Regions from separate parts of the Homo sapiens genome. Here region 2 is linked to region 1. Evidence: promoter capture Hi-C in human tissues and cell types (Jung and others, 2019). All regions are on one chromosome and are shown on one strand. Each heading gives the region's core, a stretch centred on a gene start or on the middle of the fragment in contact. The rest is flanking DNA. Distances are from core to core; before and after follow the strand shown.

The links. The method cuts DNA at HindIII sites, captures the fragments that hold promoters and counts their contacts. A contact is called where the count stands out against the background at its distance.
Region 2: a contact is called between a fragment that was not itself captured here and the fragment with the promoter of MLF1 in region 1, in 1 of the 25 tissues and cell types used here (heart left ventricle).

Annotation. Positions count from the first base shown.
Region 1 is chr3:158,569,446-158,572,480 of GRCh38, forward strand. MLF1 (myeloid leukemia factor 1) reads left to right here and starts at 1,749. Exons shown (of 8, transcript NM_001369783.1): 1 at 1,749-1,902. The coding sequence starts at 1,856. MLF1-DT (MLF1 divergent transcript) reads right to left here and starts at 1,621. Exons shown (of 5, transcript NR_104147.1): 1 at 726-1,621. The HindIII fragment of the contact is 8,231 bases long and covers 1-3,035 here.
Region 2 is chr3:158,119,428-158,122,451 of GRCh38, forward strand. It overlaps RSRC1 (arginine and serine rich coiled-coil 1), which reads left to right. Exons shown (of 10, transcript NM_001271838.2): 2 at 2,676-2,871. The coding sequence starts at 2,678. Among named protein-coding and RNA genes, the nearest start is that of RSRC1, 11 kb to the left of the region's middle. The HindIII fragment of the contact is 8,881 bases long and covers 1-3,024 here.

The DNA of each region.
Region 1 (3,035 bases), core at 499-2,998:
AACTGCTTTCACAAGGTTCAGCTAATTCCCTGACTAACCTGTGCCTGGACTAAAGCTTTTATAACAATGTGATTCTAAAAAAGTTCCCACAGAAACTAGAGGGTAACATTACAAATTTACTTGGCCTTAATCCAGAACTATTTTAACACCATCTTTTATCACATAACTTACTCCATTTCAAGTTTTTTTTTAAGTGTGGCCTCCTTCACATCTTGTGCTTATACTATTTTAAAGAGAAAAACAATTTAAGGTCTTATAAAACAATTTTGTTTGCCTTGAAATTTATTTAGAAATTTTCGAAATTTTGTGTATATGTTCTCTGAGCTTTATTCTGAGTCCAGAGGAAAAGAAAATATCCTCTTTCCTGGATGGGCTGTGCCATCTCATCTTGGGCTGTGAAGTCTGCCCTACCCCATGCCACCAGTCTCAGGGGAAGGAAGCTGCCAGAGAACTTGGCTAAAAAAGGGGGATGGGGAGTAAAAGATCCAAACGATTAAATTTCCAGCTCTCAAAATAACCCCTGACTACTCCTGTCACCTCCAAATCAGGGCTTGCACACTTCTTCATGCTGGCAAAGTGCCACCCCTCTGGCCTGATCCCAGGGGGCCCTGATGAGCTATGGACGCCCCTTTATCTCTGCAAGACAGCCACGTAGAGAAGCTGGGGAGCTCACTGAATTAAGGGTGGACATGCAAGATGTATTTTCTCTTTTCTTATACTCTTACCATTCTTCTCCTTAATCTCTCTTCTGTCTTCCCCTCCATCTGTCTCCAGGCTCCTGAAAGGCCCCGTGATAGTGTTTTCTAAAACTTAGTAATTTGAGTACCACTATCACGATGTTCCTCTCCCCTGCTCTGCCTACCCCTCCGCCCCACCATATCCAAATTCCACCTGTTCTATTTGATAGCTTACTTTTTCACTTAAAAATGCAAAATCTAGCTCTTGATGTATATCACTGATTTAAATTTAAAATCAGTTTCCTTGCCATAAATAGAAAGCTCCCTGATAAATGTAATGCAAATAAAAACATATAGTAGTGGAATTTTAGTTGGATATGGCTGCTTGCTGCAGGCCTGTGCCTGAAACCTGCTGTTAGGTTAAGAAATGCTGGAGAAGTGTTAAAAACATATCAGCATCGCAGTGAGACTTGATCTTTGAAAGAGAGACACAGAAGGACAACCGAAAAGAGAGCAGCTTTCTCAAGAGGTAAATAAGTTTGTTGAAATCTGATAGGCTTCATCCCATTTCCTTCAACAACTGAGTACACTATTTGCTAACTGTACTAAAAAACGTTTTGCACATTTTTTCTTATTATTTGCTCACAGCTTTTGACTACCAGAGAATGTTTCGGATACAGGACTAATTCCTGTGGATGACAGAATGCGACCGTTGAATGGGACATTGGGTGTCATCTGGTCCAAATCTTGACCCCTTTTCATTTTCCCCGAAAGAAAGACTTGCGGCTCGGAACCGAGGGCGGCATGCCCAAGGTCACAGAAAGGGTGGTCTAATGTTTTGGTTCCTGCAGCCCAGAGAACAAGCTATCCCATCCCACAGGAGCCTTGGCGAAAAGCTCCCCGGCCGGCGCAAGGCCAGACTTCTCGCCTCCACTGTGTTGATTGCGGTTGCCAGGGCAGCGGCGCATTGCTCCCCGCCTCGTCCTGGTGACGTCACAGAGCAATGTCCAATGGGAAAGCAGCTCGGTGTCACGCACCTCCTATCCCGGCGGGCACCGCCTGCGCCGCGGCGAGTGAGGCGTCGTCCGTACTGGAGGCTAGCTCTTGTCGCGGCCGCGGCGAGTTAACATCGTTTTTCCAATCTGTCCGCGGCTGCCGCCACCCAAGACAGAGCCAGAATGTTCAGGATGCTGAACAGCAGTTTTGAGGATGACCCCTTCTTCTCGTGAGTTACGGGAGCCAGGAGTCCGGGGTCGCGCGGGAATTAAGGTATCGAGGGGAGCTATTTTAAGGGAAAAGAGCGAGTTTTAGAGGGCGAGAGAGAATTCGGAGTAACTCTGGAGGCGGTTTGAAGGAGACGAGGATTTGGAGGCCTGGGAGGGAAGAGAGAGGAGGATTTAGGGGTGTGTGAGACAGGGAAGAGACGGATTTGGGCGCATGAGGTGGAGAGAGGAGGGTTTGGACGCGTGAGGTAGGCGGAGGGAAGTTTGGGGGCGTGAGGTGTGGGGAGGAGAGTTAAGGCTGGGAGTGGGGGGAGAAGAGTTGAGGCCGGGAGGTGGGGGGAGGAGAATTGAGGGCATGAGGTGGGGAGAAGAGGTTGAGGGCGTGAGGTGAGGGAAGGGTTTGGGAGCATGAGGTGGGAGGGAGGAGGGTTGAGGGCGTGAGGTGAGGGGAAGGGTTGAGGGTGTGAGGTGAGGGGAAGGGTTGAGGGCGTGAGGTGAGGGGAAGGGTTGAGGGCGTGAGGTGAGGGGAAGGGTTGAGGGCGTGAGGTGGGGGAAGGGTTTGAAAGCGTGAGGTGGGGGGAGGAGGGTTGAGGCTGTGAGGTGGGGGGAGGGTTTGGGAGCGTGGGGTGGGAGGAGGAGGGTTTGGGGGAGTAAGGTGGAGGGGGGAGGGTTGAGGGTGTGAGATGGACGAAGGAGGATTTGGGGGTGTGAGGCGTTTGGAGGAGGGTTGAGGGCGTGAGGTGGGGGGAGGGTTTGGGAGCATGAGGTGTGGGGGAGAGTTGAAGGTGTGAGGTGTAGGAGGAGGGTTGAGGACGTGAGGTGGGAGGAGGATTTGGGAGCATGAGGTGTGGGGGAGGGTTGAGGGTGTGAGGTGAGGGGAAGGAGGGTTTTGGACCGCGAGGTGGGGGGAGGAGGGTTGAGGGCGTGAGGTGGGGGGACGGTTTGGGAGCATGAGGTGCAGGGGAGAGTTAAGAGCTTGAAGTGCAGGGACGAGGGTTGAGGGCGTGAGTTGGTGGGGAGGGTTTGGGAGTATGAAGTGCAGGGGAGGATTGAGGGCATGAGTTGGTGGGGATGGTTTGGGAGCGTGAGGTGGCGGTAAGAGGGTTGAGGGTGTGAGGTGGATGGAGGAGGATTT
Region 2 (3,024 bases), core at 266-2,765, 450 kb before region 1:
CTTATTTTGGTATTTTTTAAAACAAGATAGCAAGATAGTAAAAGCTCATCTTAATTTAAATGGTTATTTGTTTGTGAGGAACATTCTTAAATGATTAAAGGTAAAAACAAGAAAGGAATTAAAAGCCAAGAAATGAAATTATTATCATTCAATTGTGTACATATTTCTTAACATGGATATAAGTATATGTGTGTGTGTATAATATACACACATACATATGTGGGTATCTATTTGATATATATAATGGATATATGTATATATTTTATGTATAAATGGATATGGACACATGTGAATTTATATGTATGTACAGATATACCTTATATACATCTGAATTATGTTTGTATTTAAATGTATGTTTGTATTTACATATATATACATGTTGTATATATTTATAATTTCATAGTCTTTTTTTTTTTTTTTTGAGATAGAGTCTCGCTCTGTCACCCAGGCTGGAGTGCAATGGCACTATCTCGGCTCACTGCAACCTCCGCCTCCCAGGTTCAAGCGATTCTCCTGTCTCAGACTACTGAGTAGCTGAGACTACAGGCGCATGCCACCACGCCCAGCTACTTTTTGTGTTTTTAGTAGAGATGGGGTTTCACCATGTTGATCAGGCTGGTCTCGAACTCCTGACCTCAGGATCCGCCCGCCTCGGCCTCCCAAAGTGCTGGGATTACAGGCGTGAGCCACTGCACCTGGCCACTTTCATAGTCATTTTAAAGCTGGAAAGTGTCGTGGTAATCTTTTACCTATTGTAGTTTCATTTTTTAAATGAGGAAACTGGCTTAGATATGTAAGTGATTTACTGAAATCTTCAAAACCAAGTCTTCCCAGTGTTTTGTTAAACTAAAATCTTAGACATGTGAGCAACTTGGACGTTCAGAGCTACATTTAAAATCCTTAATTCTGGCTCTAGGTAAATAGCTTAAAGTTTTGATTTGAGTCCTAAGAGATTTTTTCAACTGGTATTGTATTGGAATCAGGGAGGGGCTGGCTCACCTGATGCTTCTGAAAGCAAAGCAGTAATTTAACATATTATAAGTTGGCACAAAAGTAATTGTGGTTTTTGCCATTACTTTTAATGGAATGTATTAATTATTAAATATATAAATAATATAGAATTAATATATTAATATTAATATATTAAATATACAGTTAATATTAAGTATTATATAGTTAATATTTAATATATAATATATTTAATGTTAAACATACTATACATAATATATATTTAATATATTAAATAGATAATATATATTTTATATATATATAAATATATTCCATTAAAAGTCATGGTAAAAACTGCAATTACTTTTGCACCAACATAATACTTTGTTTATAGTGACGGTATTTAACTTATTTTGAATAAATATTAAAGATGATGTGAGCTTTTATTTATCCTAAGTGATTACAACGAATGGATCTTGTTTTTATATGACTTTGAAAGATAACTAATAACTATTTTAATAAAAAATAGTATTGCATATGAGAATCTAAATTAAAGTAAGACAACTAAGCTTCTTGTCAGCAAAGTTAATTCCTAAATATGAAAGCCTTAGGTTCTATTTGTTTTTTCTGTTGTATACTAAATGTCCGTGTTACCATAACTATATAGAAATAGTTTGAAAAACTATATTTTATATTATGAAAATTATATTGCATCATTTAAATACTAATTTTCATATGTACATATTTTCTTAAATTATCTCAATGGATACCACTATAATAATGCTGTGATGAATATTTTCATGAATATATCCTTTAGAAAAATTTTTTCAGATGTATTTGTAGAAGTAGGATTTCTCTGTCAAAAAAGCATCAACATTTTTAGATTATTATTACTCAATTGTGTACATATTTCTTAATGTGGATATAAATATATATGTTTGTGTGTAATATACACATACAAATGTGGATGTCTGTTATAGATATAATATCTATTATATCTGCTTAATTTATTGTTTTATTGCTTTCTAAAAAGATTATTCTACCACCTTATAGAGATACTAGCAGTGTGTGAAGAGCTGACTGATTTCTCAATAACCTCATCAACTTTAGTACTTTAGTTAATATTGTCTCCCCTGAGTTTCACAAGTGAAATGATGATTATAGTTCATTGTTTCAGTTTGTACTTTGTTGATGACTAATGAGGTTTTAGCTATTTAAAGATGTAGAATTTTCTGTTAGAAAAAAAATTCAACTCTAAGATAGTAAAATATATTTTGTCATTAGGGAATGTGAGAATAAAGGAATAGTTGGTTGATTACTAAAGAAAATGTCATATAATTAATGAGAAATATAACTTAAAATATCAGATAATTGATATAAAGAACTGCTCTCAGTCTTGTCAAGAAGCCAGGCACATAAACAATTTTACTTTGAATAAGACTTTTAAAAATTTTACAAAGTTTTATAAAAAGTAGTACATTGAGGCCAGAAATGGTGGCTCATGCCTGTAGTCCCAGCACTTTGGAAGGCTTGGGGGAAGGATCGCTGGAGCCCAGGACTTCCAGGTTGCAGTGAGCAATGATTGTACCACTACACTCCAGCCTGGGATACAGAGGGAGACCCCATCTCTAAAATAAATAAATAAATGAAATAAAAAATTAATATATTGCATTTCATCCATTGTGCCACCATGTTAGAAATAATATTCTTCAAATTTATGCTTATAGAAATGGGACGTCGGTCATCAGATACTGAAGAAGAAAGCAGAAGCAAGAGAAAAAAGAAACACCGTAGACGGTCCTCCTCGAGCAGTTCTTCAGATAGTAGAACATACAGCCGAAAGAAAGGAGGAAGGAAATCAAGATCAAAGTCAAGATCTTGGTCCAGAGATCTTCAGCCTCGTTCACATTCTTATGATAGAAGGTGATTTTTGTAATTTTTATTTATATAGTAATGAGGATAACATTCTTTAAAATTCATGTTTTTGTATTTTTAATTTTGCTAGATAAAACATTTTTCTTTTACTAGCTATATATTTATGAAAGTCCCAACCCAGAGTTTTTTTGTTCCACCAGG